Regions from separate parts of the Homo sapiens genome. Here region 1 is linked to region 2. The links are contacts of gene promoters, found by promoter capture Hi-C in human tissues and cell types (Jung and others, 2019). All regions are on one chromosome and are shown on one strand. The core of a region is centred on a gene start or on the middle of the fragment in contact, and the rest is flanking DNA. Distances in the headings are between cores, read along the strand shown. Region 1 overlaps SPTBN4 (spectrin beta, non-erythrocytic 4). Region 2 holds the start of HIPK4 (homeodomain interacting protein kinase 4).

What was found. Contacts are between HindIII fragments. The study calls those that stand out against the background at their distance.
Region 1: a fragment that was not itself captured here is called in contact with the fragment with the promoter of HIPK4 in region 2 in 1 of the 25 tissues and cell types used here (spleen).

The regions. Positions count from the first base shown.
Region 1 is chr19:40,537,244-40,543,255 of GRCh38, forward strand. All of the region lies in intron 20 of SPTBN4 (spectrin beta, non-erythrocytic 4), which reads left to right. Among named protein-coding and RNA genes, the nearest start is that of SHKBP1, 37 kb to the right of the region's middle. The HindIII fragment of the contact is 8,028 bases long and covers 583-6,012 here.
Region 2 is chr19:40,388,609-40,394,443 of GRCh38, forward strand. HIPK4 (homeodomain interacting protein kinase 4) reads right to left here and starts at 1,573. Exons shown (of 4, transcript NM_144685.5): 1 at 830-1,573. The coding sequence starts at 1,294. It overlaps PRX (periaxin), which reads right to left. Exons shown (of 7, transcript NM_181882.3): 7 at 5,160-5,835. The coding sequence ends at 5,358. RefSeq lists enhancers at 926-1,475, 1,476-2,025. The HindIII fragment of the contact is 19,093 bases long and covers 1-5,835 here.

The sequences.
Region 1 (6,012 bases), core at 3,347-5,846, 150 kb after region 2:
AGGTGATCGGCCTGCCTTGGCCTCCCAAAGTGCTGGGATTACAGGCATGAGCCATGGCATCCAGACTGTAGTTCTCTTTCATGTCTAGAATAGAAGAGAGCTAGCTTCTCCCATCCGTGTCTGTATTCAATCCATTTCACTAGCACAGGTCATCAGGTCTCTGAAAAACACTGCTGCATGCTGGAGAGAGAATGAGAATGGTGAAGGCAAATAACATCTTAGTATTTTTATAAAAATAGTTGTAACCTTGCAGATGCCTTGAAAAGATCTCAGGGATCCCCCAGGGGTTCCTTGGCCACAGTTTGAGAACTGCTGATGTACACAATGTGCTGGGCACTGTTAACTCCTCTCTCCTCCCCAACAGCCCCATGAGGGAGGTCCTGTTATTATCCCCACCCAGCAGAAAACCACAGCACAGAAAGGATCTGTGGCTCACAGAGGTCACATGGCTACCAAGTGGCTATTCAATACCACCTTTAGTCCCTCCCTGAGCCTCTGTCCTCCCTCTTAAATAGGACTCTATCATCAGTGCAGGTCTCCCAGGGCCAGGTGGGGATGTGCACAGAAAGGAGCCACTTAGCACAGTGCCCAGGATGTGGTAAGCCTGCAAGAAAGGGGCATCTGACTGTCAGGGTCCCAGCCAGAAACAGAAGCAGGCTCACCTGCAGAAAACTTGAGTTTCTTGACAAAGGTGTGAGTGGAGAACGGGGAAGCTGCAGGAAGCATATAGGGCTGTGGGACTCATGGAGGGGAGCTTTTGCTCCTCCCTAGCCAGAGAAGGTAGAGAAGGAAAAGTTATTGGAACTTGGAAGGGGAGAGTTGCCAGACAGGAGCTGGCACTCTTAGTCAAGAACGGCAGCCATGGCCAGACGCAGTGGCTCACGCCTGTAATCCCAGCACTTTGGGAGGCCAAGGCGGGTGGTTCACTTGAGATCAGGAATTCAAGACCAACCTGGGCAACATGGCAAAACCCCGTCTCTACTAAAAATACAAAAATTAGCCGAACGTGGTGGCACATGCCTGTAATCCCAGCTACTCGGGAGGCTGGGGCATGAGAATCGCTTGAACTTGAGAGGCGGAGGTTGCAGTGAGGCAAGATTGCACCTCACTGCACTCCAGCCTGGGTGACAGAGTGAGACTCTGTCTCAAAAAAAAAAAAAAAGAGAAAGAAAGAAAGAACGGCAGCCAGACCATGGCACCATAGCAGGGAAGAGCTGGGGAGATAATACCCCAGACTCACTTTCCTCTGGGCTTCCCTTTGTCAGCCAGGGCTGGCTTCATGGGTGTTTGCCCGTGCAGTGACACAGGGCTCCATGCTTGGTTTAATGCCCTACTATTGATGTCTTGAATTTTTTTGTTTTTGAGGCAGTTTCTACCTCTGTCACCCAGGCTGAAGTGCAATGGCGTGATCATGGCTCACTGCAGCCTTGAACTCCTGGACTCAAGTGAACCTGTCACCTCAGCCTCCTGAGTAGCTGGGACTACAAGCGTGTGCCACCACGCCCAGATAATTTTTGTAGTATTTTATAGAGACGGGGGCCTCACTGTGTTGCCCAGGCTGGTCTCAAACTCCTGGCCTCAAGTGATCCTCCTACGTTAGTCTCCCAAAGTGCTGGGATTACAGGGGTGAAGCACTGCCCCTGGATAAAATTCTTAATAAATATTTGAACAAGGGACCTTGTGTTTTCATTTTGCACTGAAAAGTATAAGCCATGTTTGAGGCCAACCCACATGGAAGCCAGAGGACAGGAGGGCTGGTCCATGCAGGTCAGTCCTGCACAGGGCAGGGTGAAGAAGCTTGGACTATGGGTCTCAAGATCCCGGGCTGAAGCATCCATCCACCTCGGCCTCCCAAAGTGCTGGGATCACAGGCGTGAGCCACTGCCCCAGCCTATTGCTAGGATTCATAATTATCTTGCAGTGATTACTAATTCTTCCCCAGCAGTGTTTTGCAGTGGCTGAAGGCACAGACTTGGGACTCCAGCAGGTCTGGTTCTGAGTCACAGCTCTCCCACTTGCTGCCTTCGTCTCTCCCTCTGAGCCTTGGATGCCTTCTCCTTGCAATGGGAAGGACCTCAATGCTCACCCCCTGGTGGATAGCAGGAGTGTGGGAAGCAGCAGAGCATCTCAGTGAAGGGCATGGATGCTGGCGCTGGGCTGCCTGGGTCAAGCCCTGGCTCTGTGCCTTATCACCTGGATAGCCCAAGGAGGTTACTTTTCTCTCCATGCTTCAGTTTCTTTTTCTTTTTTTAAGAGGGAGTCTCACTCTGTTGCCCAGGCTGGAGTGCAGTGGCAGGACCTCGGCTCACTGCAACCTCCGCCTCCTGGCTTCAAGTGATTCTCCTGCCTCAGCGTCCTCCTGAGTAGCTGGGATTACAGGCACCTGCCACCACGCCTGGCTAATTTTTGTATTTTTAGTAGAGACGGGGTTTCACCATGTTGGCCAGGCTGGTCTCAAACTCCTGACCTCAAGTGATCCACCCACCTCCGCCTCCCAAAGTGCTGGGATTACAGGCATGAGCCACCGCGCCTGGCTGTGCCTCATTTTCTTCTTCAGTAAAATGGGCATAATGATATTTCTGACCTCATAAGGACATTGTGAAGGTGAAAAGACATAATGCATTAAGTGGTTTCAGAACTGCTGACCCAACAAATCTAAGATTCAGTATTTATTCACAGGTCTTTAATTTTTTTTTTTTTAGACCAAGTTTTGTTCTTGTCACCCAGGCTGGAGCGCAGTGGCACAATCTCGGCTCACTGCAACCCTCTGCCTCCTGGGTTCAAGTGATTCTCCTGCCTCAGCCTCCCGAGTAGCTGGGACTATAGGCACCCGCCACCATACCCGGCTAATTTTTGTATTTTTAGTAGAGATGGGGTTTCGCCATGTTGTCCAGGCTGGTCCCAAACTCCTGACCTCAAGTGATCCGCCCGCCTCGGCCTCCCAAAGTGCTGGGATAATAGGCATGAACCACCGTGCCTGGCCAGTCTTTAATTTTAACTGTCATAAAACTGAGAGCATATCACCATCACTCTACTGTTTTCAAAAGCTAGTTGTTTCACCTTCCCTTTGGTTGTTACTTATGTGATACACGGTTACTTCATTTGTTTTTGTTCATATTCCATTTGGGGCATTTACCCCTCTCCATGCTGCTTTTTAATTTTAATTTATTTTTATTTTTTGATAGATGGGGTCTCACTATGTTACCCAGGCTGGTCACAAACTCCTGGGCTCAAACAGTCCTCCTGCCTTAGCCCCTCAAAGTGCTGGGATTATTCGCGTGAGCCACTGCACCTGGCCCCAAAACACATTTTAAAAAAGCAACATGGATGATTGGGCACAGTGGCTCATGCCTGTAATCCCAGCACTTTGTGAGGCCAAGGCAGGAGGATCGCTTGAGCCCAGGTGTTCCAGACCAGCCTGGGCAACATAGCGAGATTCACATGCCTGTGTTCCCAGCTACTCAGAAGGCTGAAGTGGGAGGATCACTTGAGCCCAGGAGGTTGAAGCTGCAGTGAGCTGTGATCGTGTCACTGCACTCCAATCTGGTCGACAGAGTGAGACCCCCATCTCAAAAAAAAAAAAAAAAAAAAAAAAAAGAAAAGTAATTTGGAGGTGGTAAATGAAATATTTATATAGTGTTAAAAGTTAGAACCATCTTTAGCTCACTTGCTTTTGCCAAATTGCCTGCCCAGGTCCTTCTGTGGCTGCTCACTCTCTCCCCAGCAGTACACATGAGCTCCTGTTTCCTCTCGTCCTTGCCAACACTTGGTTTTGTCAGACATTTTAGATCTTTCTCAGTCCGATGGCTGGGAAGTGGTATCTCACTGCAGTGTGTGTATTTGTATTTTTTTCCAATGCTACTGGCGAGCTTGACCATCTTTGACCTTCTTTTGTACTATTTAGGTTTTAGAGGAAGGAGTTGGGGCCTCCTGCTTTAGCCAGAGTACAGAGTTAGCTCTTCCCTCCCTGTAGGGGGTTCAGTCTCAACCAAGCCCAGCAAACCATGAGATGGGGGTCCCCATTGTTCAAGGGAGGGGCTGAAGCCCAGAGGAGACAAGGGAGTGGCCCTGGGGTCACACAGTGATGGGTGCCAGAGGCAGGCTCCAGCACGAGACTCCTGGGCCCTTTTCCCAGCAGAGGGAGCCCGAGGCAGGAAGTGACTGTGTGGGCCAGGGCACCCAGACGGAGCCCAGCTGCCCCTCAGGAGCTGCTACTGGGGAAGGGACCTGCCAAGGCCCTGCTGTCCCCTGGGGCATACACAGGAGAGGGGTTGGCTGCCATCCAGCCTGGCACGTTTCCTGGCTGTCCCATCCACCCTTAGGGCACTGGGGCCAGGCTGGGCTGAGGGAGGTACTGGCTCGGGGTCTGAGGGGTGTAGTGGTGTGCAGTGTGTGAGCGATCTGTCCCCCTCAGCCTCTCTCCTGTCCTCCCGTCGCCATCTCTGTGTCTCTCTCTTCCCTTTGTGTCCCTCTCTGTCCTACTCTCTCACTCCCTTCTCTCTGTCTCTTTATTTATTTTGAGACAGAATCTTACTCTGTCACCCAGGCTGGAGTGCAGTGGCGCGATCTTGGCTCACTGCAATCTCCGCCTCCCAGGTTCAAGCGATTCCCCAGCCTCCCCAGTAGCTGGGATTACAGGCACCCGCCACCATGCCTGGCTAATTTTTGTATTTTTTTATTTTTATTTTTTCTTTTTGAGACGGAATCTCACTCTGTCACCCAGGCTGGAGTGCAATGGCACAGTCTCAGCTCGCTGCAACCTCCGCCTCCCGGATTCCAGCGATTCTCCTGCCTCAGCCTCCCAAGTAGTTGTGATTACAGGCGTGAGCCACCACGCCCGGCTAATTTTTGTATTTTTAGTAGAGATGGGGTTTCACCATGTTGGCCAGGTTGGTCTTGAACTCCTGACCTCAGGTGATCTGCCTACCTTGGCCTCCCAAAGTTCTGGGATTACAGGCATGAGCCACCACCCCAGTCTCTCTGTCTCTTTTTATTTGACTTCTCTGTCTCTGCCTCCTTCCCGTGTTCCTCATGTCCTCCTTGTGTCCTCTCCCTCATCCCGTACCACACCCGCTGCTGCAGCAGGCTCTCTGGGACCCCACCTCCCAGGTCCTGGCCACGTGACCCAGAATCCTCTCTCGGGGCCTGTTGCCAAGCTGTGCTTCCTGGCCAAGAAGCCAGATGGTGGAGTCTCAAGTCCTGGCTCCCCAGCCCTCAGGGACCTGGCCAGCTGGTCGGCCTCAGCCACAGGCTCCTGCTTGGAGAGATGGGGGACTGGTCTCCTGCCAGATGAGAAAATGCACTAGAGGCTTTGCAGCTGCCAGGCTCTGTCCCTGGGGACCCCACACTTTTTCCAGGCCCACCCCCACCCTAAGCAAAGCTCTTTCTCTGGCCAAGGAAACACCCTCCTCCCCCCTGTTCTGCTTCTCTGTCCCATGTTTTTGTATCCAGCTCAGCATGGCCTAGGAGAGGAGTGCACATTCAGGGACTATACAGTCCCAGTCCTTGCCTTATTGGGACTCAAGGCAAGGGACCCCATCCTTTCTTTCTTTCCTTTTTTTTTTGTTTTTGTTTTTTTGTTTTTTGAGACAGAGTCTCACTCTGTTGCCCAGGCTGGAGTGCAGTGGCGCGATCTCAGCTAATTATGTCTTCATAATTCACAAATTATGTCTTCAATTTATGAAGGTGCTGGCTCGGGGTCTGAGGGGTGGAGTGATCAGTAACTCAAATTACGTCTTCACAAATCTCCTTGTCTTCATTTCTGAGCACCGCTTTCTTCTGTGTTGGCCTCATGGTCAGGGAGTCCCTGATGTTGGCAGGATGACCCCAGGATGCCCGGCCTACCTCCTCCCAACTTAGGAAGCCCATGGGAAAGAGAGCATCTCTTCTGTGCACACACATTTTCCTGGCGAAAATGGGGAGAGTGGCCGGGCACAGTGGCTCACACCTGTAATCCCACACTTTAGGAGGCCAAGATGGGAGGATTGCTTGAGGCCAGGAGTTGGAGACCCG
Region 2 (5,835 bases), core at 323-2,822:
GTGTCTCTGGCAAGCATTCATTTAGCACTGGCTCCATGACTGCAGTGCTGGGAGATGTCAGGGACACAGCGATGATTAAGTCAGCCCCAGCCTTGCCCTCAGGGTGCCCCTGGTTCAGAAGCATCCAGACAGTATCAAACTCAAAAGCAGACAGAGGACTGGGCATGGTGGCTCACACTTGTAATTCCAGCACTTTGTTGAGGCCAAGGTGGGCAGATTGCTTGAACTCAGGACTTTGAGACCAGCCTGGGCAACATGATGAAATCCTGTTTCTACCAAAAAACACAAAAATTGGCTGGGCGTGGTGGCTCACGCCTGTAATCCCAGCACTTTGGGAGGCTGAGGCAGGTGGATCACAAGGTCAGGAGTTTGAGACCAGCCTGGCCAACATGGCGAAACTCCATCTCTACTAAAAATACAAAAATTAGCCGGGCATGGGTGGCGGGCACCTGTATTCCCAGCTACTCAGGAGGCTGAGGCAGGAGAATCGCTTGAACCCGGGAGGCGGAGGCAGTGAACCAAGATCATGCCATCATCACCCCGTCTCTGATAAGTACAAAAAAAAAATTAGCTGGGCGTGGTGGCGCATCCCTGTAATCCCAGCAACTCGGGAGGCTGAGGCAGGATAATCACTTGAACCCAGGAGGCGGAGTTGCAGTGAGCTGAGATTGTGCCACTGCACTCAAGCCTGGGTAACAGAATGAAACTCCGTCTCAAAAATAATAATAATAATAATTTTAAAAAATTAAAAAAAAAATCTAGGGCTGGAAGAAGCTGGGAAAAAGACAAGGAACTAGGGACGCAGCCACCCTAGACGACCCCTACTCACCTTGACCCTGAAGGGGCAGCGGGTCTGGTCCACCAGCATGATGTTCTCAGGCTTGAGATCAGCGTGGATGATAGCCAGCTCCTTGAGCCGGGCCAGGGCTGTGAGCACCTGCAGGGTGACTGTACGGATGTGGCGGGCGGGGAGGGGCGCGAAGTTGTTCTCCTTCTGGAACTCGAAAAGGTTTTGCTCCAGCAGCTCAAAGACCAGGTAGAACTTGAGGGCGTCATGGAAGAACTCAAGGAAGCGGATGACGTGGGCCTCTTCAGGGTCTAGGCCTCGCATGCAGTGCAGCAGCTTCAGCTCGTTCTTGATGATGCGGTTGCGGTAGGCGTCATTCTTGAGGATCTTGATGGCCACCATCTCGCCCGTGCTCCGCCGCCAGCCCTTGGCTACCTCCCCGAAGGTCCCCTTGCCCAAGACCTCGATGATGTCGTAGCAGTCAGTCTCCGACTGGATGGTGGACATGGTGCCGCTGCTGCCAGACACCGCCCTGCCCAGGCCCCTGTACCACTGGCTCTGCCGCCCAGGCCTCCCGCCTGGCTGCTGACACAGCAGGCCCCCCAGTGGGGGAAAGAGAACCGCACTCGTGTCTCCTCCTATGAGGTTGGCCCCTGCTTCCCTGGCACCCCCAAACCCCCAGGCCACACTGTCAGTCTGCCAGGGGCTGCACCCCTCCCCAGAAACCCTCCTGGCTTGGGATGAGGGGCCCCAGGCCCCACCGAATGGGTTCCAGCGCTGTTGAGTGGCTCTGGTTCTGTTGTTGGAGACCTGAGCCCTGGCTGGAGTGGGGGTGGGGTACCAGGCTGGGCCCCCTCCCCCGCCCAGTGGCGGAATCTTGCAAAGACCAAACAGGTGAAGTGTTGACAGAGGGGGGTCTAATCGTGGGCCTTGGGCATACAGGAATGGGGATAAGGCAGGAGTGAGGAAAGGTGGGCTTCTTGAGCTTGGGAGATGTGATGTGTGTGTGTCTGTGTTCAGAAAACTCCTGTCCCAGTCTGTGGCTACTGTGGGGTGAGGTTGTAAAAGGCCCTGAATGCCAGGCTAAGGAGTTTGGATTCTGTTCTGAGGGCACTGGGGAGCCACAGAAGGGCTTTGAGCAGGGGAGGGCAGGGTCAGATATGAGTGTCAGAAAGTTACTGTATGAAAAGGGATAGGTTGGAGCGGGTAAGAGTGGAAGCCCCAAGCCAGGGAAAGAGTCCAGGACAGGGCACAGATGGGAGAGGTTGGGGAGGAGAGGGCGAGGCCAATGGATGAGACACTCAAAAGGCCAGGAGAAGCAGCCGTGAGACCGACGGTTTGAGGGAAAGGCGGGAGCTGTCTAAGAACGGGCCTAGGGCTCTGGGATGAAGGGGCAGTCCCCGAGAAATGGACATGGATAAGAAGCAGCTTGGGGGAGATGTTGAGGCCAAATTAGAAAATGTATTTATTTTTGGCTGGGTGCGGTGGGTCACGCCTGTAATCCCAGCACTTTGGGAGGCCAAGGAAGGCAGATCATAAGGTCAGGAGATCGAGACCATCCTGGCTAACACGGTGAAACTCTGTCTCTACTAAAAATACTAAAAATTAGCCAGGCATAGTGGAGGGCGCCTGTAGTCCCAGCTACTCGGGAGGCTAAGGCAGAAGAATAGCTTGAACCCGGGAGGTGGAGGTTGCAGTGAGCCGAGATTGCACCACTGCACTCCAGCCTGGGTGACAGAGCGAGACTCCATCTCAAAAAAAAAAAAAAAGTGTTCATTTTTATTTATCTTTTTAATTTTTTGTAGAAATGGGGTCTCACTATGTTGTCCAGGCTGGTCTCAAGTGATCCTCCTGGCCTCAAGTGATCCTCCTGCCTCAACCTTCCAAAGTGCTGGGATTGTAGACATGAGCCACCACTCCAGCCAGATTAGAATATTTAACAGCGGGCCGGGCTCGGTGGCTCATGCCTGTAATCCCAGCACTTTGGGAGGCTGAGGCAGGTGGATCACCTGAGGTCGGGAGTTCGAGACCAGCCTGACCAACATGGAGAAACCCCGTCTCTACTAAAAATACAAAATTAGCCGGGTGTGTTAGCACATGCCTGTAGTCCCAGCTACTCAAGAGGCTGAGGTCGGCAGGCTGAGGTATGAGAACTGCTTGAACGCGGGAGGTGGGGTTGCAGTGAGCCAAGATTGCGCCATTGCACTCCAGCCTGGGCAACAAGAGTGAAACTCCGTCTCAAAAAAAAAAAAAAAAGTAAAAGAAAATGTAACATCAAAACATTTAAACAAGGATGAAGTTCTTTAGAAGTCTTATCTGATCCTTACAACATACAAAGTAGGGATTTTATGGAAGAGAAAATCAAGGCACAAAGAAGTTTTTAAAGTGCCTGGCCAGGAGTGGTGGCTTACGCCTGTAATCCCAGCACTTTGAGAGGCCAAGGTGGGCGGATCACCTGAGGTCAGGAGTTTGAGACCAGCCTTGCCAACATGACAAAACCTCAACTCCACTAAAAATACAAAAATTAGCTGGGCATGGTGGTATACACCTGTAGTTCCAGCTACTTGGGAGGCTGAGATCGGGAGGCTGAGGTATGAGAATCGCTTGAACCTGGAAGGCGGAGGTTGCTGTGAGCCAAGATTGCACCACTGCACTCCAGCATGGGCAACAGAGTGAGACTCTGTCTCAAAAAATAAAAATAAATAAATAAATGATAAAATAAAATGCCTAAGGTCACTCAAGTGACTGCCAGAGACAGCCTCTGACCCTAAGCAGCCTGGCTCCAGCGCCAAACTCTGAACCACCACCCACACAACCTCCTAAAAACCAGGAGACCTCTGGAGAAGGGGTGCAGAAGCTGCTGGGTCCCCAAGGGGATGCAGGAGAGAGTTTGGGAGTTGTCAGCACAGAGAGGAGGCGTGGAAGCCATGGGGGAGGGTGATGCACCCTAGGGAGGGTGTGGGGGTGGACAAGGGCCCGGGAGGAACCTCCGGTGCCCAAGGAGCACGGGGAGAGAGAGGTGTGGGGAAGAGGAGCAAGTGTCAGGAAGATCGAAGGGGCCTTGAAGAGTCAGGACAAGAGAGACAAAGGAAACCCTCAGGCGTGGCCACGGGGAGGTCACTGCTGACACAGACAAGGTAGGAGGAAAACCCCAAATGCTGGGGTCTTGGAAATGGGGGTGCACTGTGAGTGTAGATAACTCCTGCCATGTTTGGTGGGGGCAAAGAAAAAGTGTGTGGTGAGACAGTGACCTGAGGAGGGCTGGCTGGAAGGGACAAGGTACTCAAGTGAGTGGGGGATTCTGCCAGGCCCCTCATCCACTGAGACAGGATAGGGAGATGTGAGGAGAGTGGGGGGCTGTCGGGGCGAGACTTGGGACTGGATATTGAGTCTCCTTAGTCCAGTGTGGGACATCACAGAGAGACATGGAGGAGGCTGGAGGCCCTGCTGGGAGCCTCAGGACTTAGATCCTGAATTGGGATGGCAGGGATGGATGGCCCATGGCCCCTGGGAGCTGAGACCAGCACTGACAGGTGCTGAGGACCCTGGGACCTAGTTCCAAGAGGCGGCTGTGTTTCTGGGGTAGAGGCTTTGAGGGGACCAGGAGCAGCCTTCCTGGGTGGGGCCAGAGTGGACAGGGCAGTCAAACCAGCCAGACAGGAAAGAGAAGGCCAGGATGTGCAGAAGTGCCCTCACCGGCAGAGGGCAGGTGGGGAGCAACCAGCCTGGTAGGAGTGGGTCCCCCAGGACAGGCAGGCTTCCTGGCAGAGGGGTCCCGAAGCTGTGCTCTGCCAGGGAACATCCCAGAGTCCTCTTTAACAACCCCTGGGAATTCTCAAGGGCTAGGGACGTCTCCCTTCCCACCACGGCCTGTCCCAAGGCCATCCTGAGTCTTTGTTTTTGTTTTTGTTGAAACAGTCTGGCTCTGTTGCCTAGGCTGGAGTGCAGGGGCACCATCAAGGCTCACTGCAGCCTCGACCTCCCGGGCTCAAGTGATCCTCCCACCTCAGCCCCCCGAGTAGCTGGGATTACAGGCACGGGCCACCATGCCTGGATATTTTTTGTATTTTTTGTAGGGATGAGGTTTCCCTATGTTTCCCAGGCTGGTCTTAAACTCCTGGGCTCAAGCAGTCCTCCTGCTTTGGCCTCCCAAGTGCTGGGCTTACAGGCATGAGCCACTGCGCCCAACCCGCCCTGACTCTTCTCAGACCAGGTATGACCGGTTTCTCCCCTCACACCAGAGGTTCCCCTCAGGCCAGGCTCAGGCGACCCCTAGAACCTCCTCTTTGGAGACTGCCTTCTCTGCATCTCCCCTATACCCACTCCTGCCCCTCCCTGCCCCCTATGCACACAGAGGAGACAAATACATGGCTACTTCCAGATTATTTTATTCACATGGCTTGGTGGGGTACAGGCACTCCTGCCAGAGAGACAGGAGCAGGCCTCCCTGCCAGCCCTGGTCAGTCACCCACCTCCCGGCCCTCTTAGGGTTAGTGCTAGTTATCACACACACAACAGCGAGGGGGTAGAGAAAGGAAGGCAAGAAGGGATCCCCATCTGACTAGGGGCTTCAGACAGCCGCAGCCTGAGCCCCCTCCATCCTGGCCGGGCCTGGAGCCCCTGTCTCTGAAAACCCCACGCTGGGCAGCCGCACCCGCAATCCACCCTCTTCCTGGTCCCCACTCCCACTCCGGGCCTTGGGGCTTAGGGACACCCTGGGGAAGCGGAACTTGGGTGACTTCTCTCTGACGGGGGACTTGGGGGCTGCATCGCCCTCCTGCCCCCGAGAGGCTTTAGAAGGGGCCGCCAGGCCTACACGTGGCAAGCGGACCCGGACCCGGCCCCGGCGACCCGAGGCCCCTTCCCCACTGCCCTCTTCCTCCTCCTCCTCCTCCTCCTCGGGGCTGGGGGACCCTTCCCCAGTGACCATCTCACTTTGGCTGAAGCCCACTCGGGGCAGCCTGAGTTTGGGGCTCTTGGCCTTCTCACCCTCCTCGGCCCCCTCCTTGGCCCGCACCAGGCCAAACCGGGGCAGCCGTACCTTGAGC